Regions from separate parts of the Homo sapiens genome. Here all the other regions are linked to region 6. The links are contacts of gene promoters, found by promoter capture Hi-C in blood cells and fetal thymus (Javierre and others, 2016). All regions are on one chromosome and are shown on one strand. Each heading gives the region's core, a stretch centred on a gene start or on the middle of the fragment in contact. The rest is flanking DNA. Distances are from core to core; before and after follow the strand shown.

What was found. The method cuts DNA at HindIII sites, captures the fragments that hold promoters and counts their contacts. A CHiCAGO score of 5 or more calls a contact.
Region 1: a fragment that was not itself captured here is called in contact with the fragment with the promoter of LDLRAD3 in region 6 in 1 of 17 cell types (endothelial precursors); the score reaches 5.6 in endothelial precursors.
Region 2: a fragment that was not itself captured here is called in contact with the fragment with the promoter of LDLRAD3 in region 6 in 1 of 17 cell types (endothelial precursors); the score reaches 5.1 in endothelial precursors.
Region 3: a contact is called between a fragment that was not itself captured here and the fragment with the promoter of LDLRAD3 in region 6, in 1 of 17 cell types (endothelial precursors). The highest score is 5.4, in endothelial precursors.
Region 4: a fragment that was not itself captured here is called in contact with the fragment with the promoter of LDLRAD3 in region 6 in 1 of 17 cell types (endothelial precursors); the score reaches 7.3 in endothelial precursors.
Region 5: a contact is called between a fragment that was not itself captured here and the fragment with the promoter of LDLRAD3 in region 6, in 1 of 17 cell types (endothelial precursors). The highest score is 5.8, in endothelial precursors.

Annotation. Positions count from the first base shown.
Region 1 is chr11:36,231,249-36,234,842 of GRCh38, forward strand. LDLRAD3 (low density lipoprotein receptor class A domain containing 3) reads left to right here. Exons shown (of 6, transcript NM_174902.4): 6 at 1-888. Among named protein-coding and RNA genes, the nearest start is that of COMMD9, 56 kb to the right of the region's middle. The HindIII fragment of the contact is 3,387 bases long and covers 578-3,594 here.
Region 2 is chr11:35,581,874-35,585,809 of GRCh38, forward strand. No RefSeq gene overlaps it. Among named protein-coding and RNA genes, the nearest start is that of FJX1, 35 kb to the right of the region's middle. The HindIII fragment of the contact is 514 bases long and covers 2,170-2,683 here.
Region 3 is chr11:35,486,815-35,490,359 of GRCh38, forward strand. The region is part of intron 3 of PAMR1 (peptidase domain containing associated with muscle regeneration 1); the gene reads right to left. Among named protein-coding and RNA genes, the nearest start is that of PAMR1, 37 kb to the right of the region's middle. The HindIII fragment of the contact is 1,017 bases long and covers 776-1,792 here.
Region 4 is chr11:35,632,253-35,635,978 of GRCh38, forward strand. No RefSeq gene overlaps it. Among named protein-coding and RNA genes, the nearest start is that of FJX1, 16 kb to the left of the region's middle. The HindIII fragment of the contact is 1,232 bases long and covers 760-1,991 here.
Region 5 is chr11:35,673,950-35,677,598 of GRCh38, forward strand. All of the region lies in intron 1 of TRIM44 (tripartite motif containing 44), which reads left to right. Among named protein-coding and RNA genes, the nearest start is that of TRIM44, 13 kb to the left of the region's middle. The HindIII fragment of the contact is 3,131 bases long and covers 825-3,649 here.
Region 6 is chr11:35,941,767-35,945,418 of GRCh38, forward strand. LDLRAD3 (low density lipoprotein receptor class A domain containing 3) reads left to right here and starts at 2,296. Exons shown (of 6, transcript NM_174902.4): 1 at 2,296-2,378. The coding sequence starts at 2,333. RefSeq lists a silencer at 2,207-2,646. The HindIII fragment of the contact is 2,245 bases long and covers 747-2,991 here.

The DNA of each region.
Region 1 (3,594 bases), core at 1,021-3,520, 290 kb after region 6:
AGGATGTTACAGAAAAGCTAGCCACTGGTATTTTGTTTTGTTTAAAAAAAAAAAGAAAGAAAGAAAGAAAGAAAAACGGAAAGGAACCTAGCTGCCTGTATCTTTCATTTTTAAAATAGCACTTGAGTTATTTTCTGAGTAATCCAATAAAGAACTTTTGATGACAGCCAGAATGTGTTAGAACTCTGGCTGAACATTTCATCTCCTGTGAGTCAGAAGGGCTTTATTTCTCCCTTTGATGGGGCCCCTTCTTCTTTCTGGTGCTCTGGAAGTTGTTTAGAGGAAAGAATTCTAATTTTAATTAATTGCGCAGTGAGTTAATCTCACTCGCTTTTCTGCTTCCAGGCATCTTAGGAAAAACAAATGGTTTTAGTAGATAAGGGATGCCTACTAATGCTTTTTTAAAACAAACAGGGACATTTTTATTATAGATTTGATTTTTTTAATGAATGTTTTTAAAAATATATAAATAGGACACCAAAGCGGCAGGGTTTTTTTGGGGGGGAGGGGGTTTGTTTTCCAACTCAAGATGGCACATTAGTGGCCAGCAATATTTTTTAACTCATTCCAACCAGGAAGCTTTTTTATACATTGCCTAAATCTACGCCAACCAGAAAATAGTCTCATCTCTTTTTTTCTCAAATGAGATCCGTGTTTTATTTTAGCATTAAATTAGTTACACTGTGATGACTGGCCTATTACCTGACTCAGCTCCCTCTACCTTGAAATTGACATTTTTAAAAAATGCAACTAAGTGGTTAATAGTGTGTGACGCTCAAAGTTAATGTAAACTGGAAAGGTTGTGTGTCGTTGCTTTTTGTGTTTTGGTTAGGCTTGGTTTTGTTTTTTAATTTTTATACTTTCTAATAAATTTGCAGTTTCATTCTTTCTGTTTGTGCAAATGGTCCTTGACCCACTCATTTCCCTTATAGCAATATAAACAGTGGACAGTCACTTCTGTCATAGCTTTTGCAATGAATTTATGCCATAATAAAATGAGAAAAAGGAAGAATATGTTGGTGGGACCTCAAAATGTGATGGATGCTTCAGGATTCTGCAGCTGATATGATTGGAATACAGAGGCAAAGTTGTGGACACCAGTTAATGTAATGGGCCCTGGGAAATCATATTGGAAGATGGGTGTTTCTGCCTTTGCTACAGCATTGTTCAAGGGAAAAGGACAAGTAGCTGTGATAACTGTAACAGATTCTGACCACATATTCAGGAGCACACTATAGCTCTTGGATAGGTGGGCTAGTAATTAGTTTCAAAACACAAATGGCTCAGATTGTCCCCATCAATGATGGGAACATCTTTATGCTTTTTTAAGTCTAGTTTTGGAGCCACATGTTGGCCAATGCAGCAGGGACATCTGCCTGGGAAGGAAGTTAGGATGCCCCATAGGTCACCAGCACCACCATCATGAACAGGGACAGTAACTCCAGCCCTGGCCGAAATGAAATCCACATGGAAATCCAAATGCAAGACCCACAGTACCAAGATTTGGATCATGTATTGATCCCAGATTCCTCAAATGAAGACTGGGCTGTCAGGCATGTGTATCCCAAATATATGCTATGTCATGCCCTGCCCCAAGTGATGTAGAGTAGACTTTCCCAAGCCCCAAAGATTTGTCAAGTTACTCATTTCATCATCCCTCGAGGTACCTTATGAATACCTTTTTTTTTCTTTTTTTTGAGATGAAGTCTCGCTCTGTCGCCCAGGCTGGAGTGCAGTGGCGTGATCTCAGCTCACTGCAAGCTCCGCCTCCCGGGTTCACGCCATTCTTCTGCCTCAGCTTCCCGAGTAGCTGGGACTACAGGCACCCACCACCATGCCCGGCTAATTTTTTTTTTTTTTTTTTTTTTTTGCATTTTTAGTAGAGGCAGGATTTCACCGTGTTAGCCAGATGGTCTTGACCTCCTGACCTCGTGATCCGCCCACCTCGGCCTCCCAAAGTGCTGGGATTACAGGCGTGAGCTGCCACGCCCAGCCATGAATACCATTTTTATGGATGCCAAGATGAGCATTTTTTATGGATGCTAGTGCTTTGCAATGATTGTAAAATACTCAGCTAGAGCAGGGGTTGATAAACTTTCTCTAAAGGGCCAGAGAATAAATATTTTTGGCTTGTGGCCGTGTGGTTTCTGTAGCAACTGCAAAAGCAGCTATAGACAATACAAAATTGAATGGATGTGGCTGTGTTCCAAGAAAACTATTTACAAAAACAGGCTACTGGTGGGATTTGACCTGTGGGCTGTGGTTTGTCAGTAATCTAAAGGATCACTTCCACATTGGGTTCATAGATGTAAAGCTAAGGACACTGAAGAGAAGAAACAGTTGTGTTAATGGCTTGGAGTACTAGAACCCTTGAAATGACACCAATCTCAAAAAATTAAAAATAGGCCGGGTGTGGTGGCTCACGCCTGTAATCCCAGCACTTTGGGAGGCCAAGGTGGGCGGATCATGAGGCCAGGAGATTGAGACCTTCCTGGCTAACATGGTGAAACCCCATCTCTACTAAAAATACAAAAAAAAAGAAAAATTAGCCGGGCGTGGTGGTGGGCACCTGTAGTCCCAGCTACTTGGGAGGCTGAGGCAGGAGAATGGCATGAACCTGGGAGGCAGAGCTTGCAGTGAGCCAAGATCGAGCCACTGCACTCTAGCCTGGGTGACAGAGCGAGACTCCGTCTCAAAAAAGAAAAAAAATTAAAAATAGAAAAACTCATGAAGCAGACAATTCAAGGCCCCTATTAGTTCTCTTCCAAAATAAGAAGATACAGGATTAAGCTGAAGAGAGGCTTTCTTAATGAAATCCTAAATATTTGGGTTCAATATAGCAATCCTAGGAAAAAAAAAAAACAAAAAACTACTCTTACTGGGAGTTCTTCAAGGTCATGAACTCACACAGCAATCTGTCTTTTTTTTTTTTTTTTTGAGACAGAGTCTCACTCTGTTGCCCAGGCTGGAGTGCAGTGGCACAATCTCGGCTCACTGCAACCTCTGCCTCCCAGGTTCAAGTGATTCTCCTGCCTCAGCCTCCCAAGTAGCTGAGATAATAGGCGTGTACCACCACACCTAGCTAATTTTTTGTATTTTTAGTAGAGACGGGATTACACCGTGTTAGCCAGGACGGTCTCGATCTCCTGACCTCATGATCCACCCGCCTCAGCCTCCCAAAGTGCTGGGATTACAGGAATCTGTCTTTTAGAGAAGGTCCATGGGAGTGAGTGACGTGGTATGTCCATTTTCTACGTTGAGCTTGCAACCCACAGGCAAAGCAGTAGATTCTAAGAGTGAATTGAATGAGAAAGAGATTCAGGTGGCTGCAGTGGAAGTGTATGAGTGTACATAACTATGCACCCAGTGAGACCCTTAGGGAAAAGGTCAGTGAGAAAATATACTGACTCCCTTGACATCCTACAGCTAAACAAGTTCATAGGACATTAATTAGAACTCCTAGTTGTAAGTTATAGAAATCTGACTCATACATGATTAATTGCATTAAATTTTAGAAGATATATTGTCTAAAGCAACCAAGTCCAAGATTATGGAACTTTTGGGTTCAAGCAGACCTGGATCCAGCTGCTCAAC
Region 2 (3,936 bases), core at 1,177-3,676, 360 kb before region 6:
CAGGGACAGTTCTTAGAGCCCATGTTAGCTGGGGTTCTCTGAGAGTCAGACTCCAACATGAGATCAAATATGCAAGGATTTGATAGGGGAAACACCTAGGAAAGAAAATGGGAGGGAGTCAGAAAAGGCTGGGAGAGTCATCAGACTGAGATGGGATCCTGGCCCTGAGTAGGAAGAGCAGGAAGGGAAGCATCCCAGATTGCCACACAGTCCAAGGAGGGTCCTGTAAAACCCTCAGGAAGACTTCAAGCCAAAGCTGGCATGGGAGGATTCCTGTGTTGCCTAGAAAAGGTCTGCCCCAGTAGCCCTGCTGCACTGGTCATTGACTGGGAGCACAGCCTCAGCACAGACACAGTAATGGACTTCAGAGTGCAGTGCCTGGGGCTCTTGGTCAAGTACACTCCCCGTAGTAGAGGTTTGCAAGGAGCATACTATGGCCAGCATAGAGGCATAAGACAATGAAAATTCTGGCAGCAGTGGGTCAGGGGGCAAAAGAGTATTGCAGAGTGATAGCTCCCCCTCTAAGAGGTAACAGCATAGTATTTCTTTGTCTATATTGACAATATATGATCTTTACATTGTCACCAAAGAAGCAGAACTGTGCTATGTTTCCTGATTTATGTAGGTCATTTTCTGTGTTGTCACATTTCCTATTCATTCGCTTGTTCATTTCTTCTTTTATTCACCCAACAATACTTATTTTTTTAGACAGAGTCTCACTCTGTCGCCCAGGCCAGAGTACAGTGGCGTGATCTTGGCTCTCTGCAACCTCCACCTCCTGGGTTCAAACGATTCTCCTGCCTCAGCCTCTTCAGTAGCTGGGACTTCAGGCGCCACACCCAGCTAATTTTTTGTATTTTAAGTAGAGATGGGGTTTCACCATATTGGCCAGGCTGGTCTTGAACTCCTGACCTCATGATCTGCCCGCCTTGGCCTCCCAAAGTGCTGGGATTACAGGCATGAGCAACCACGCCCAGCCTAACAATACTTTTAAGAGTCTAATTCTTCTAGTCACTAGAGAATCAGTGGTAAGTTACACAGCCATGGAAATATCTTGTTTTAGGTAAAATAGACAATAAAAGTGTGAACAAAAAAAAAGAAGAAAATATCTGATCATTATAATACCCTAAGGAAAATAAAACAAGATGATCCAATAAAGAATTACTTTTAGAGGGTGGAGGAAGAAAATCTATTACTTGTATGTCCAATCATGTTTTCAGCTACTTTCTTTTCTTGTCCCACAAACTCTATTTTGGAACATTAAGACAGGTCGACCTAACCTGACTCCAGTTTGTTTTCTCCCCTGGCATGAACATTGGCTTAGACTACATACTCCAGCCTCTGCCTTTCCCTACCAATGTTATTGCTGGCAAGCCCAATCCCTCCAATACTGTAAGCTGCTCTGTACATCCCTCTATACACAGGGGACAGGGTTGGTCCTGCAGTGATGAATAAACATTTCTTCTGTATTAGTAACTCCTCTAATTTGTCTTGGACTATCATTATTTTTTCCTTTCAGGAAATAAAACCCCAAACAAACAAGGGTCTAAGAAGCCATGTGAGAGTAAAGCCTACCAGGTCACACTCAGTTCTGGGAACACTCAGCCCTCCCCTAATTAATTGCAATAGTTGAAGCATTAGCCACACAGCTAGATGAGAAGGAAGCATGAAGTTCTAAGAGTGTTGGGCTGGAAGTCAGAAGACCTGTATTTTTGCCCCAGCTCACCATTAACTAAATGGGCAATCTCAAATAAATGTCTTCTTCTCTGGCACCTGCCATACAATAAGCACATAATCTATTTTGTTGAATGAGTGGAACAGGATCTTATACTACCACTGCCCCTATCAGCTAAAGTAGAGATTCAGAGGCTGTAACAAAGAGACCTCAAAATATAGTGGCTTAAACAGCAAAGAGGTTTATGTCTCTCTAATGCAACAGAATAGTGGTAAGGAGGAGAGGTTGGCAGCTCTGCTCTGCCAGGATATCCTGGGACCCAGGTTTCTTTTATTTTCTTCCTCTAGATCTTTTTAGGGTGGTGCTGCATGGCTGATGCTGATTCAGCAGTGCCACATCCAAGTACCAGCCAGAGAGAAGAGGAAAAGAGAGTAGATGTGAAAGACTTACACTCAAGCTCCCATTCACAAGAAGCTGATCACATGGCCACAACAAGCTTCAAGGGAGACTGGGAAATGTGGCCTCTAGCTGATTAGCCATGATGCCTGAAAGCACCTATGGAGTAGGGGAGAATTTTCTTACTAAAAGAGAAAAGGAGAGAACAGACACAGTTGGACATATAGCAGTCTCGGACATGCCTATAACAAGATTCCATACTCAAGTCTATTATTCTATTGAGTAATGAATTGTATTGTCATGTAATCATTTAATTTTATTTGGCTTCTTTTTTTTGCCCAGAATTTTGCTTTGATTCCAACTTCAAACCTACTACTGACCTAAACCTAATGTCTTTGGGTATGTATGTTTTAATGTGAGGTCCATGGCTCCCACAGGCCCCCCTAAGGGGAGTCTTAAAATTTTTTACGAGGATCTTTTTAATTGGAGGTCTTCGTTTTGATCATAGTCTTAAAATTGAGTTTTACTATCTTCTGCATAATTCTAATGACTCATGATCAAATCATACCACAGGAATCCAGTGGCCTTGTTTATTCCAGTGGCACAGATGTAAGCTTTGCAAAGACATGTTGGGTTAACACAAATTAAGGCCAAATAAGTTGATAGTATACGTATACTTTACAAAGGCAGTTTCCATAGTAGTTCAAATAAAGAGAAATTGTGGAAAAATGGGTCATCACATGGCACCCAGTAGCATAGACATGCCAAATTTAAAAGAATTAATGAGGCAGCAGTCAATATCATGTTTTCATTTGAAAGGTAATTTGGTTTCAGCAAAACAACATCATCCTTCCCATTAAATTAAGGTTGTTAAATTGGCTTTGTAGTTTTGTTTGAATTTAACTTGTATTGAATTATATAATTTAACTTGTTTTTGGTTTTATATATATATCAGAGCCATAAGGATAAATTTGAAAGTAGCATTATAATTAAACAATTTAAGTAAACACTGGGAGGAAAAGTGGAAATTGCTTTTTTCTTTCAAAAGGCTCCATTTATTACTAAAGATTAAGGGGCAGAGTTAACATGAAGATTTTCAAACAGTGATTTCCCCCTAGACTATGATTCTAGTAGACCCTAAATATTTTTACCCTGGAAATACTTGTTTTAGATCTTGTCCACACTCACCACTCAACCTCAATGCCTACTCAGTTGCTGCCCTCTTTAGAAAAAGAAGAAACATGGAATTGTGTAATATTTGCAGCATTTCATGAACCAAAGAAATTTTGCCCAAGAGGATGGGTAGGTTACTCTCTGATTGCTAGTTGATTTCTGTTGCTTGAAAGGACAGGAAAGTGAAAAGTTCCTTCCTTTTCCTCTTGTCTTACCCATGACTGCAGTTTCTAGGGTAACTGCCTGAAAAGGGCAATAAACATTCCAGCCCCCTAACGCAAAGGTGTAGAAAGTGACAAATAGAGGGGTTCTGCAGCAGTGCGTACATCAGTCTATCTGGTGCTTGGAGATCCTTTGGGATGAGAGGTACTACATAACTTTAAGTTATAGAGACGCTTAATCAACCATTCTCCCACTGACCTGTGTTCTGTCCGTGATTTACTGGCACCTCTGTTTACCTACAGGATAATGGTCCTGGTGGGGAAGAGTATGAGGAAATAAATGACTAGGTGGGTGATTAATTGTCCTCGCACAACACAGGGTCTGGTACCAAGATCATTATTTCTATTGTATGACAAGAAAGAAAGAAGGAACAGTGAAGCAGTGTGCATAAATAATGGGAGAAAGATTTCTTCATTGCTCAGGAAAGCTTTGCTGTCCCATTCTTTTCAGACTTTCTGAAGTGGCCTGTC
Region 3 (3,545 bases), core at 34-2,533, 460 kb before region 6:
CTGTCCCCTGCACCCTGAACAAACCCCCTTACTCACATGGAGCGACTGAAGTATTGTTTAGAAATATTTATCCACCCCTCTTCCTTTGGGATGGCATATACTTCCCTACTTCACTCATTGGGAACTTAGCCATGTGACTTCTTTTGGCCAGTGGAATATGGGTGAGTGTGATGTGCGCAGAGGCCTTATGTGCACCTGTGTGTTTGGCTTGACCTCTTGTGCTTCTGCGACCCACCCTGAGAAGAGCATCCCCTGATGGTTGCTGTCCCTTCTGCCTAAGCCCTGCAGCCTGGAGCACAACCAGCCCAGGTCAGCCCAGTTGAAATCAGTGGAATGCCTGCCAACTCACAGACCCATGAGAAAGAACAAACATTTGTCCTTTGAGATTGTTAGTTACCCAGAAAAAAAAAAAAAAAACTGAACACTTTATCACCACCATCCCTGAAAGCTTCAACTTAGAAACTCTACTCTCTGACCATAATACCCATTCCACCTATGTGTTCCATTACTTCATTACCACCAAGCCTGCTTTTCCACTTAAGACCTCCTGTCCCTATTGCCCCTCTACCAGGCTCTTTCTGATTTCATGTCCTTCCCAGCTGGGATCCTTGGTCAGTCATGTCTCAGCTTATTCTTGGATCAACAAAACAACTGGTTTTACTCCCTTCTGCTGCTGCACTTCCAGAGAGCATCAGCCAACGTCCTAACTGACTGCATCACCTCCCTAGGAACTCTGGCTTCGACTGGGTCCTCCGTCTCGCTTGGATATGCTTTAAGCTTAACACCAGCTGGTGCCTTTTCTTGTTCCTCAAGTGGCTGCCCCAAACCTTTGGTACTTTCAAGCCCCAACCTCACTTCTACTCATTCTCAGCAGATATTTCACTCCCTACTTCCCAGAGAAAACGGGAGAACTCACCAGCAGGAGGCAGACTAGGACTGTGGTTAAGAACAAGAGTAAGGGGTCTGGAATCGTCCTGGGCTTTACCCCAAAGTGTACGGCCTCAGGCAAGTTACTTCACAGCTCTGAGCCTCAGTTTCATTATCTATAAAATGGGAGTATGTATTTTCATAGGGTGATTGTACAGATGAAACAAGACATGGCACATAAAGTGCTCAGCACAGTTCCTACCATATAATTACTAACAAACAAGATATGCTACCTATAAATAATTCTTTTCCTCCTGTCTCAGCCTAGGACAGAAAAGGAAGCTCCCTCTCCTTTAACTCTCACTTTTGTTCTTGATCTCATAGGAAGTTCTTCTCCTTCAGGATAACATGGTCTTAACTTCTTCAGTTAGTCTTACTCTAATATGTAATATTTTTAATCTCTCCTACTGACACTTTACTCACATTAGCTTAAAACCTGTTTAACCCTTTCCCATCTTTTTTTTTTTTTTTTTTTTTTTTGAGAGAGAGACAGAGATGAGGTCTTGCTCTGTTGTTTAGGCTGGAATGCAGTGGTGTAATCATAGCTCACTGCAGCTTCAAAATCCTTGGCTGCAGAAGCGATTCTCCCTCCTCAGTCTCTTGAGTAGCCAGAACTACAGGCATGCACCACCATGCCTGGCTGAATTTTTTTAATATTGTGTAGAAACAGAATCTTGTTTTGTTGATCAGTCTGGCCTTGAACTCTTGTCCTCAAGTAACCTGACTGCCTCATCCTCCCAAAGTGCTGGGGTTACAGGTATGAGCCACTGCACCCGGCCTTTCCCATCTTAATTGGTATTTTTCCACAGCTGTTTATTTACTCATATAAACTATCACCTTAATTCTCCCCTTCCTTGCTTGATTAAGCTTATTTAAAAGAAAGTTGTCTGTATTCTTTTTGTCCATTTTTCACACTTCAAATCTTGCCTTTTTTTTTTTTTTTTTTTTTTTGGAAACTGTCTCACTCTGCCCAGGCTAGAGTGGCAGTGGCATAGCTAATTTTGTATTGTTTGTAGAGACAGGGTTTCACCATGTTGCTCAGGCTGGTCTCGAACTTCTGGGCTCAAGTAATCCACTGCCTTGGCCTCCCAAAGTGCTGGGCTTTCAGGCATGAGCCACTGCGCCCTGCCAAATTTTATATGAAACTGCTATTGCTCAGGTCACCAATCGCATGCTAGCCATCAAACACAAAAACCTCTTTACTGCCTTCATCCTATGTGACCTTTCTGCCTTTGAAACACTGCCCCCAGCTTCCAGAACCCTACTCCTTCCTGGTTCTCCTCCTATCTCTCTATCTTTTCCCATCTCCTTCCTGGTTTTCTCTTCCTTTCCTTTTACATCTGTTGCTATTTCCTCTGCCCATGGTGCTCTGTTCACCTCATGCTTCCATCTATAACAGCCATAGGCATATCTCAAGTCTCCAAAATTCTCTTGAGCTCCAGGCACTTATTTCCTACTGTCTGCAGAGTCTCTTATAGATGTCCAAATTCCAGCTTATCTCATGTGGAACTCACCTTCTTTCCCCCACCAAACCTCTTCCCTTTTATTACTCACTTAACAGCATCAACTTCTAGACAGTTAATCAAACTAAGAATTTGAAAGGCAAACTCTTGAGATTCCTTACCCCATTCTTCAGTGAGTCTTGAGTCCTGTCACTCCTTCCTTTAAGCTCTTCTCACTCTAGTCTCCCTTCTTCATCCCCTGAAGCGCTGCAATCGCACTCCTAATGGCTACCTTTGGATATGGTCTTCCTCCACTCCAGCGGAGTTATGCTACAAGAGTTATCTGTCAAATGGTACTCCCCAGATTAAACCATCCTTCATCTCAGAACCATGTCTAAGCTCTGAGCCCTGGAACACTATGCCCTTCATAGTCAGGGCTTGCCACCCCAAGACCATCACCTTGCTCTAATCATACCTCATGTCACATGCTTCCTTGAACACACCTTGCATTTTCACACCCTGACCATACTATCCCTCTCCCTGAAATATCTTCCTGCTCTGCCAACTGAAGAGCAAAGGCATAGCTCAACCTTCACTTCCTGTCTGAAACCTTACCTCCCTCTCCCTGTCATTAACTGTTCTGTTAGCTAGTTCTCAGAGCACTTGGTCCATCCTCTACTTCACCACTCTTCCTTGGTTCCCCACTGCACTTGCAATAGCATCTAAATTCCTTACCTAGCTTACCTACCTACAAGGCTGTATTAATCTGTTCCCACACTGCTAAGAAAGACATAGCTGAGACTGGGTAATTTGTAAAGGGAAGAGGTTTAATGGACTCACAATTCCACATGCTGGGAAGGCCTTGCAATCATGGCAGAAGGCAAGGGAGAAGCAAAGGCACATCTTACATGGCAGCAGGCAAGAGAGCTTATGCAGGGGAACTCCTGTTTATAAAACCATCAGATCTCCTGAGACTTATTCACTACCATGAGAACAGTATGGAGGAAACTACCCCTATGATTCAATTATCTCCACCTTGCCCCACCCTTGACACATGGAGATTATTACAATTCAAGCTGAGATTTGGGTGGGGACACAGCCAAACCATATCAAAGGCGTGATCACACTCCTGCCTACCACTCCAACCCCATCAAATCCCCCTTTCCCTCTCATGTG
Region 4 (3,726 bases), core at 126-2,625, 310 kb before region 6:
CAGAATGTGAGGGCAGCATAGATCTGTGAAAACAAACAAACAACAACAACCCAAAGCCTATCAGACTGCAGAAAACAATGACCTCAAAGGAAGAACTGCCTGCCTTTAGCTTGAATAATCCCAGAGTTTACTGAGTTCATGGGCATGCACTTCACATGTGGCATTCTCTGGGGAAAGACTTAAGAACTTAATCTGCCCTTTTCACCTCCAGTTTCTCCCGTTCCTGCCCAGGGTGATTAATGTGATGATGGCTTTGAAGACAGCTCCACAGAATCCCAAGGGATCTATACTCTTGGGATGACATCATAGGGTGATTTGTTTGCTCCCAGGTCCCTGTACATTTCTTTGGGTACCAGCTGAGCACTCAGGAAAGTCTTTTGTAAACCTGTCAGAAATACTGTGGGGCCTTGGTGTGCCTTTTCTTGTTTGGATTTCCTTTTCCTTCTGTCCTGCATTGTGACAAATTTCAGAATGCTGGTTTTATCCTCTTTTGTACTTCCTTTTTATTGTTGTTTATAACAACTCTGTAGACGATGGCTTTGTTTTTTCTGTACTATCTGGATGACCTCCCTTAACAGCAGGTTTCTGTGGCTTTGCTTTTGAGGAATTTGTGAAGAAATTGATTCGGGAAAGAATCAGTAGCAAATCCCTACAGGTCTATGGCAACTGCTTTTTTTTTTTTAAGCCAGGGTCTCACTCCCATCACCCAGGCTGGAGTGCAGTGACATGATCTTGGTTCGCTGCAGCCTCAGCTTTCCAAGCTTAGGTGATCCTCCTACCTCAGCCTCCTGAGTAGCTAGGAATATAGATGGGCACCACCATGTCCAGCTAATTTTTTGTATTTTATTTTAGGTAGAAACAGGGTTTTGCTATGTTGTTCAGACTTGTCTTGAACTCCCGGGCTCAAGTGATCTGCCCAAAGTGCTAGGATTACAGGCGTGAACCACCGTGCCTGGCCTGGATTCTCTCTTTAAAGAAGTTGCTTCTTGGCCAGGCACAGTGGCTCATGCCTGTAATCCCATCACTTTGGGAGGCTAAGGCAGGTGGATCACAAGGTTAGGAGTTAGAGACAGCCTGGCCAATATGGTGAAACCCCATATCTACTAAAAAATACAAAAATTAGCCAGGCGTGGTGGTGCGTGCCTATAGTCCCAGCTACTTGGGAGGCTAAGGCAAGAGAATCGCTTGAATCCGGGAGGCAGAGGTTGCAGTGAGCCAAGATCGTGTCACTGCACTCCAGCCTGGGCAACAGAGTCAGACTCTGTCTAAAAAAAAAAAAAAAAAAGTTGCTTCTTAACTATTTTGTCCAGCTGGAGAGACAGTTGGGGAGTGCCTGCAATCAGAAGTTCTGCAGCTGTCTGGGACCTGTCTATTCCAAGCTACGTACTTCAAACTTCCTTTCAAATCTTAAGTGCCTTCATTCTTGCCATTAAATTCCCATTTTGCTTACGTTTGCCAGAGTATGTTTCTGTTGCTTACGGTTGAAGACCCCTGATTAAAGAAAGCGTTCAAAAAGTAGTAGGAGGGTTGGAAATGATGTCTGGAATGATTGTCCCATGACAACAGTTATTTCACCTAATGCATTGTACAGGGGTGAAGACTGCATGGTCAGGAGAAGAGGAGTATCTGCCTCTTCCCATCTGTTTAACTGGGTAGTAGCCTTTGACCTGACTGGGACCCCTGTTTTCACCCAGCCTTGAAGCTGTGGAAAAGCAGATTCAGTGGTGCAGTGTGTTCTCTTGCACTCAGCAGTATCTTAGTGAATGTTTAACAATTGGCTTTGGGTAGGGGATGGGGACAGGGGTTGATCTGTAATGTTTGCCAATTTCCATGGTGTAAACATTCCCACTGTGGCCAGTTTCAAGCTATAAATGTGATGTCACTGAATGCAGAGTTGGGAAGAGATGCACACATCAACTCTCCTGAGCCAGTATGAGCCACTGCAGCATGCCGCTGCCTCTCTGCCTCTGACTGTGGCAGTTGCACAGGAAAGCTTGTGGTTAATAACAATGGCTAAGATTTATTTAACACTTTACTTTGTGCCACATACTATTCTGGGCACCTTACTACATGTATTATCTGTCGCATGAATTTAATCATGATCTCTTTGATAGATGCAATTCTTGTCTCCATTTTATGGATAAGAAAACTGAAGGCCGGGCGTGGTGGCTCACGCCTGTAATCCCAGCACTTTGGGAGGCCGGGGCGGGTGGATCACGAGGTCAGGAGATCAAGACCATCCTGGCTAACATGGTGAAACCCTGTCTCTACTAAAAACACAAAAAATTAGATGGGCATGCTGGCGGGCAACTGTAGTCCCAGCTACTCGGGAGGCTGAGGCAGGAGAATGGTGTGAACCCAGGAGGCGGAGCTTGCAGTGAGCCGAGATCTCGCCACTGCACTCCAGCCTGGGTGACAAAGCGAGACTCTGTCTCAAAAAAAAAAAAAAGAAAAGAAAAGAAAACTGAAGTACAAAGAAAATTAGAAATTGTTCAAAATTATAAGACTTGGAAGTTGAGGTGCCATGATTTTCATCCCTGGTCATTGTTTCCAGGGGCATCTTGCTTAACGACAACATTGTGCTGAGAGAACAAATCAGATCATGAAAGACTTCTGCCTTCTATAAGGCAAGGTGAGAAGTGGTATCAGGCTCAAACAACCTGGCAGAAATGACAGTGAAAAGGTCCACAGATACACTCAACACAGACGTTTCCTATTTGAGTCTAAACTTTATTTTCTGTACATACATTCTAATTATTTATACCCCATCTACCATCAAAAGGGTAAAAGGTAGCTTGAAATAGTAATATCTTTTTTTTTTTTTTTTTTTTGAGATGGAGTCTTGCTCTGTCGCCCGGGCTGGAGTGCAGTGGCGCAATCTCAGGTCACTGCAACCTCTGCCTCCTGGGTTCAAGCAATTCTTCGGCCTCACCCTCCCAAGTAGCTGGGACTACAGGCACATGCCACTATGCCCAGCTAATTTTTGTATTTTTAGTATAGACGGGGTTTCACTATAGTGGCCAGGCTGTTCTCAAACTGCTGACCTTGTGATCTGCCCCAGCCTCGGCCTCCCAAAGTGCTGGGATTACAGGCATGAGCCACCACACCAGCCTCAAAATAGTAATATCTAACAATTATTGAGTACCTACCATCTACTATTTACATTTTATCTCATCTTCACAACAACCTTTAGAGAGAGGAATTGTTCCTGCCCATTTTGCAGATAAGGAAACTAAAGCTCACTAAAAGTTGATCTACCTCAGCCTACATAGCTAATAAGTGACCAAAGGAAGACAGATTTTTAAAAATCCTCTTTATTTCATTGATGGGGAAACAGGCACAGAGTGGTTAAGCAACTTGCCCCATGTGACGTAGTTAATTAGTGCTGATCCAAACCCCAGTCTATCTGCTACTGAAGCCCATGATATTCACACCATATCCAGTGACTTCTCCCTTTGAGTACATCCCCTTATGATGCAGCCAGAATTGATTTTCCTAGAAAGCCCTGTCTGGGACACTCAGGAAAATGACTCTGCCAAGTGACCATTGAAAAGCCAACTGCAATTCCACAGCTCAGAGGGCTGTCTCGGGACCTCCTGCCACTTGCTCATGACCCACAAAGTCCAACACTTTTCTCTCTGAAAAGCTCACCTCTCTGTGAAGATCACCAACAGGTTAAAAGCAATATCAAAAGAATGGGTTTATTTATCCAATAGTGGTTACTTC
Region 5 (3,649 bases), core at 1,140-3,639, 270 kb before region 6:
TGTGTTCTGCTTGAAGTTATGGTTCAGTCTGAGAGGACCAGCCGAGTTTCCTGTTCTTATTATTGTTTTAATATTCAGAACCAGGGGCTAAACTTGTTAGGTGGCAGTAAGGAACACAGATGCTCATGGACCTTTCAGAATAGGAGACGTATTATAGACAATGGATGAAACAGAAGCTTTAGTCTTGATACGGGGAGTAGAGATGAGAATGGGGTAAGAAATGCAGAAGGCTGGCTCTGGGAGAGTTGAATCTTGTGTGTGTGAGTGGGAGAGAGAGAGAATTTGCGTGTGTGTGTGTGTGTGTACACATGCGCACATGTGTTTGCGTGTATGTATATATCGCTATGATAGGATCAAGTCAACATTGCATCAGGTGCAAAAAAAATCAATATTGATGCCCTTTTTAAATGTCAGAAAACTGATCAAGAATGAAAAAACCAAAACCAACCAATCAAACAAAATTTCCCAAATATACCAAAGGCTCAATCCACAATTTACGGCAAATAACTCTATGGGCAGTGACTTTGATGTATACTATAATGTGCTAGATTATTTTTGTTGAACATTTATATATTAAACCCACTTCAGATGGGTTTAGTTAGTTTTTGGTAAGGTAATAATTGGTTTTTAACATCAATAAGAAGATTAGCAAATACATTCATTATAGTATGTCCAAACTATAACATATAGCTGGCTTTCATTTTAGAGAATGATATTTTATTTTCTTAAACTAATTTTATTCATCTGAATAATTTTGGAGCACTTATTATGGTGAACTGTGTGGTGGATACGAAGAAGAATAAGCAAAGTTTCTAACTTCAGGAAGCTTACAGCCTAATAGGAAAGAGAATCTTTTCACATGCTTATTTGTGTGTATTAGAGAAAAGGTACAAACAGTATGCTATGGAAGTGGAGAGAAAAGAGAAATTGATATCACTGGAGGGCATGGAGCCAGGAATAGATTCTTAGAGGAAGGAGTCTTTGAGGTAGGCCTTGAAAGATGGGTAGGGTGTTACTAGGTAGATACAGGCTTTGAGGTATCCTTTTGTTCCCATTATAACAGCCTGTGAACATTTATTGTAGCACTAAATACTGTGTACTATGTCATGTTATTTCTTTCCATGTCTTTCCCTGGTGGGTTATAAATTCTTTAAGGCTAGAACTATATGTTATTCATCTTTGTATTCCCAGCACCTAGCACAGTGCCTGCTGGATGGTAGATGAACATGAAGTATGTGATAGGAAGTGTAATAATCTTGTCTAGTTCCAGGGCATTAATGAAGAACTGAGAGAGTATTGCATAGTTGTTGTAGATCAGTGTTTACATTGGGATTAATTTGACTGCATCTAAAATAATGAAATAATTTGGAAAAATCCAAAATAACCACTCCCACATGATGTTTATTTCTCTGTCACATAAAATAACTTTGGGTGTAGGCAGTCTAAGGTTGGCGTGGCAGAACCATGAAGTTACCAGAAATCTAGGCTCTTTTCAGCTCCATTCTGACATCCTTACTGTGTCATGGGCCAAGATGACTGCTGGAGGTCCAAGTTCCAGAATGACAGACATAGAAAAGTGAAGAAGGGCACACCCCTCTATTTTTGTTTGTTTGTTCATTTGAGACGGAGTGGCACGATGTCGGCTCACTGCAACCTCCGCCTCCCGGGTTCAAGTGATTCTCCTGCCTCAGCCTCCCAAGTGGCTGGAATTACAGGCGCCTGCCACCCTGCCAAGCTAATTTTTGTATTTTTAGTAGAGACGGGGTTTCACTATTTTGGCCAGGATGGTCTCGATCTCCTGACTTCGTGATCTACCCACCTCGGCCTCCCAAAGTGCTGGGATTACAGGCATGAGCCACTGCACCTGGCTGGGCACACTGCTCTATTTTAAAGGGAACTCTCGAGAAGTTATATACATTGCTGCTTATGTTTCATTGGCCAGAACTCAATACCCTGGCCTTATCTAGTTGCAAGGGAGACTGGGAAACAGTCATTTCTCCAGGCCACAGCGTGTGCAGCTAAAAGCTGAGGTTCTTTTACTAAGGAAAAATGGGAGAAGAATATTGAAGGACCAAACAGTCTTTGACCCAGTTGGCTTTGCAGTCTGTTTTTGAGTCTTAGCTCTTCCACCTACTAGCTGTATAATGTTGAGTAATTCACTCAGCCTCTGAGTCTTGGTTTCTTCTTCTGTAACATGAGCTAAGTAATTGTTTCTCCTTATTGAGTTATGATGAGGAACAAACAAGATCATAGATGTAAAGAGTTTAGCACAGTGCCTGGAATATCATAAGCCCTCAGCAATGGGTTGCTCTTATTCTTATTACTGTTATAAAGCCATCTAAGGTTCTATTCTGAGTTCCTTTCCAGACAAGTTAGTCTGGCAGCAGTAGAAGCTCTGGACACCAAGTTTCTTGGGTGCAAACTGTTCATCCCCCTCTCCTTCTGTTCCTTCTGCCTGCTCTAATCTGGTGGGTAGATAGGCTGGAGAAAAACTTGTCTTTGGAGAAGAGGCTTCTGTATATTTCAGTGTCCTGCTGGTGCCTTATGCACTAGCTAACCAAAACACAGCTGGTAGGTCTAATTTTAGGTTCACAAGTCTTGCTGGTTGTCCTCTTTAGATTCTGTTTTACATTCTGAACTGTGGGAAGTTTTTATAGAAGCAGAGGGGAGGTGGGGACAAGATACTCTTTACTTTCTGGTTGGAAAATAGCCTTCATTTTCTTTCTAGTAGGCAGTCATGGGGAGAGATGTAAGGTTAAGTTTATATAGGCACCCATACTATTTTCCTCTGTGAATTTTGAGTGTGTGTGAACCCTGGCAGGCTCTAACCTGTGTTGATTGGTAGACTCTGACTTCATGTGTATAAATAATGAAAATGCTAATCTTTGGCCGAGGTTATAAAACCAAGAGTCTAGAAACCTTTGTCTGTTGTTGAATTTTGAGACTGTTTTTGTCTGTTTTTGAATTTTGAGACTGTTGTTTTGAGACTGTTGTTGAATTTTGTCTGTTGCTGAATTTTGTTTGAATTTCCAGAGATATGAGAAAAATAACAAATAGCTGTCATTTATTGAGTGGTTTGTGGCCAGGTCCTTTTCATATATTGTTTCATTTGATCCTTAATAAAATTCCACAATTAGCTATGTTGTTATGTTTTCCATTTTATGTATGAGGAAACTCAAAAGAGGTTAAGTTTTGCTGACAGTTACTTAGCTAGCAAGCGTAAGGACTGGGATTTGAATCCAGGCCTGACAAAGTACATATTCTTTCCACCATTCCATTTTGCCTCTACAAATTTGATTACTCCCTCTCATATTTAATCTAAGTTGTACTGACACATTATCCTTATGTTTATTTTCTATATGAAGGCATTTAATAGATGAATACTTTCTGAATATCCTAAAACTATTTTCCCCTTCTCTTTGGTCTTCTTTCTATATATTATATATAATTTTAATTAGTAAAATATTTTTTTTATTTTGTTCTATTCAGCACTTCTCTAGGTCAATACCTGATACTTAGTAGTCACTCAATGTATTGTTATTTAATTAATAATAACAACAGAAATTATAACTAACATTTATTGAGAACTTAGCTTGTACTGCTTCTCTAAACTTTCTGCATATTCTTTCATTTAATGTTTACCACAATT
Region 6 (3,652 bases), core at 1,046-3,545:
GAACTGGGAAAAAGGAGAGTAATAAAGTATAAAGAATAGTTTCATCTCCTACCCAGCTTATACGGTGAGGAGGAGGTTGGCAGTGATTTAGTATAAGTATAAAAACAACAGTCGGGCCGGGCACGGTGGCTCACACCTGTAATCCCAGCACTTTGGGAGGCCGAGATGGGCGGATCACGAGGTCAGGAGATCGAGACCAGCCTGGCCAACATGGTGAAACCCCCGTTTCTACTAAAAATACAAAAATTAGCTGGGCATGGTGGCGGGTGCTTGTAGTCCCAGCTACTTGGGAGGCTGAGGCAGGAGAATCCCTGGAACTCGGGAGGCGGAGGTTGCAGTGAGCCAAAATGTGCCACTGCACCCAGCCTGGGCAACAGAGTGAGACTCTGTTTCATAAATAAATAAATAGATAAATAAATAAATAAATACAACAGTTGACCTTAAATAAGGTTTTACATTAGTCCAAATGATTTCAAAGACATTAATATATTTATATTTAAAAGTGTGTGTGCCTGTGTGTATGTGAGAGAGAGAGAACGAGAGAGAGAGTCAGAGTCAAACTTGCAAAGTAAGGAAGTTGATGTGTCCAAAGAAACCTAAGGAAATAAGAACTATAGCAGTGGGTCAGTTGCATTATCTTTCCGTATCCCTAATGTTTGGAGGCAAATGAGCAGCTGTAGGAGAAATTATTTGCTTATTTGCCTCCTCAGATATTATTATCAAAGGCAGGAGGCCTCTTCCCAACAAGCTTCCCGGAACAATGCACATACCCACATGCACAGGACATTTTGCATAAAATTTTAAGGGCTTTAAAATTCTTTGAAGCCCATGGGACGATCTCCATAATATTCATCAATCCCAGGATAAAAGCCCCGAATGCCAAATCATTTAGATAATTGATTTATATTTTCCATGTGTACTATGAACTATGGAACTTAACCTTTCCTCCCTCACATCACATTTTCTCATTACCTTGAACAATCATTGGTATTTTTAAATTTTGACCTGATCCTTTTTAGCCTTTATGTTTCCAGACTACAGCACGCAATTACAGAGTAAAGTAATTGAATCTTAACACCCTTGAGGGTGTCTCCAGGGCATCCCAAAATCTGACGCAGGCATCCCTTTTATAACTGCCCCTGTACCCATACCTTCCCCTTTCTTTCAGCCAGGTGGAGTTTGTGTAAATAAACTCAACCCTTTTGAGGGGTGGATTTTAGGGATGCAGTTCTATTGTTTTGACAAATGTATACAGTTGTGTAACTACCTCTATAATCAAGATTAGAACAGTCCCACTGCCCCCAAAAGTTTTAATTTATTGATCCATTTATCAATTGATGGACACTTGAGTTGTTTCCAGTTTTTGGCAATTATTTGCGTTAGTCTTTTGCTTTTTTTGGGTGGGGGATCAGAGAGAGTGGAGCACAGAAGTGTCATCCCCTTCTTCCACCATCTAAGTCTTTTGGGGCTTTTCACCAGTGCCCTCTGGAAGCAAGTGCATTGGTGCAGCTATATTTTTTGCATTTGGGTATCTGCCTTTCATGACCTTTTCCTTTTTTTAATTTTATTTTTTCCAAATTGGGTCCCAAACGTTCAACAGGTCAAGGTGGACACTATGCAGACAAAATAACTCATGTGGTCCACGCTGTGTGCATGGTAGGTGTCAGCTGCTCTTACCGGTGGCTCCCGGATCATCAGCCTTGGAATCAGCCACCATGTTGTTAAAAATGCAGAATCTCAGGCTCCACGCCAGATCTACTGAACCAGAGTCAGTATTTTAACAAGATCGTCAAGTGTGCCGGATGCATATTAAAGTTTGAGAAGCACTGGTATTCCACACTCGCTACTAAAAATATACTACAATTTTCTCATAAGATTTGACCCTTTATTTTAACTTTTTCTCTCTCGGTAGTAAACTCACTTTGTAGTTTGAGTAAAGAACTCAAGTTTTGGTCTGGGCGCTGCATCTCGCTGGGTGTGGAAGCAAAGGCAGAAATGAGAGGGACAAAAGGAAGCAGAGAACAGAGCCCAGGCTGTTAGAAGATCCTCGCGGCCAGACCTGGGAGGCTGAAAGGCTGAGAGACCGAAAGGCTGAACCCTCCGCCGCGCTCGGCGGCCCCTCGGAGTCAGGACACCCAGGGTAACATGCGGGTGGCCACGCGCAGCCCAGGCGCTTGCAAAACTTAGCGGAGCCGGGCCGGGGCCGGGCCCGGGGAAGGCGGGAGGGAGGAGGGCCAGGCGGGAGGGCGGGGACGGCGCGGCGAGGGGCGGGGTCAGCGCCGAGGCCGCGGGGGCAGCAACGACGCCGGGCAGCGGGAGCGGCGGCCGCGCCATGTGGCTGCTGGGGCCGCTGTGCCTGCTGCTGAGCAGCGCCGCGGGTGAGTCGGGGGGCGGCCGGCGAACTTCCCGCGGGGCGCGGGGCGCGGGGCGCGGGGCGCAGCGGCCGGGTGCGATCGCGTCCTCTCCCGGGCGCGGGCCGCTCTCCGGGCGTGGGTGAGCGCGGAGGGCGGACCCCGGCGCCGGGCTGGCCCGGACCCTGCCGAGGGGCCGCCGCGGGGTGCGAGCCGTCCTATTGTGTGGGCGTGCGCGCCGGGTCGTGTTGTGCTGTGTGCGCGGGCGGGGCTCTGTGTGCAGTCCGGGTCTGGGGAGCCCGGCGGCTGCCCCGATTGGGCGTAGCTCGAGTGTGGCTGTGTGTGTGTTGTGTGTGTTGAGGAACGGAGGCGGGGAAAGGAAAGGAGAGGAGAGGAGAGAACTCTTCCCTGGTCTCATCTTCCCAGACGCCTGGTCGCGCGCGGCTGCGTTAGCCTCCTCTGGGCCTCTTCCCGAGTCTCTGGCGTGCACTCCGTGCCTCAGTTTCCCCACCTGCACCGCGGAGGGAGTAGCAAAGCTGCTTCCTTTCATTCCTCTCTGGGACTGTTTGGTTTGGGTAAAGTGAGTTGAAGCAAGGCCGGATCTGGGAATTCATTTTTCCCCACTGATCCTGGGAACCGAAGCTTTATTTAAGACGTCTGACCACCCTACTTGCCCCGCGATGGGCGCCCTGACCGGCGAGGGGCCCTGGGAGAGGACACGGGGCTTCATCCGGCGGCCCTTTGAACCTGGCATCACCACCGCGTGTGCATCCCGGGGCCTGGACCGCAGCAAGCCTCTTTCCCTTCCAGACAGCGTGCTGTTCCCAGGAACTTTTCTGCTGATGTGGGCATGATCCGAATTCCAGCCTGGGAGCCCTTCCTCCTCTGCCCCTGCCCGCCGCCCACAGCTGTCAGCTGTCCCTCCTGGACTGGGCCCGCCCTTGGCCCCTTGACGTTTATTTCTGGGCATCTGATGCCTAGAATGTGGGTGACAGGGCCCAGTGAACTTTCTTCAGCAGAATCTTGCCTGCCTGGTGTTTGTGCCATCCACATGTCCAATAGCTGCCCTATTTTGCCAAGTGCTTCTAGCAGCTTGGCTGTCGAGGTGTCTTTGGTGGCCTGTGGGTTTGCTAAGTTGAGGCTCACTTCATTCTTAGCTGTGCCTTGGAGTTATGAATGCGTTAAAGGGATATCTCCTCTCTTCCTTGATGTCCCTGGTCCTGGGCATCCTCACAGCCCACTGGGCAGCCTTTCCTGCTCTCAGACCCATGACATCATCTCCACTCCTCTGATACCCCATT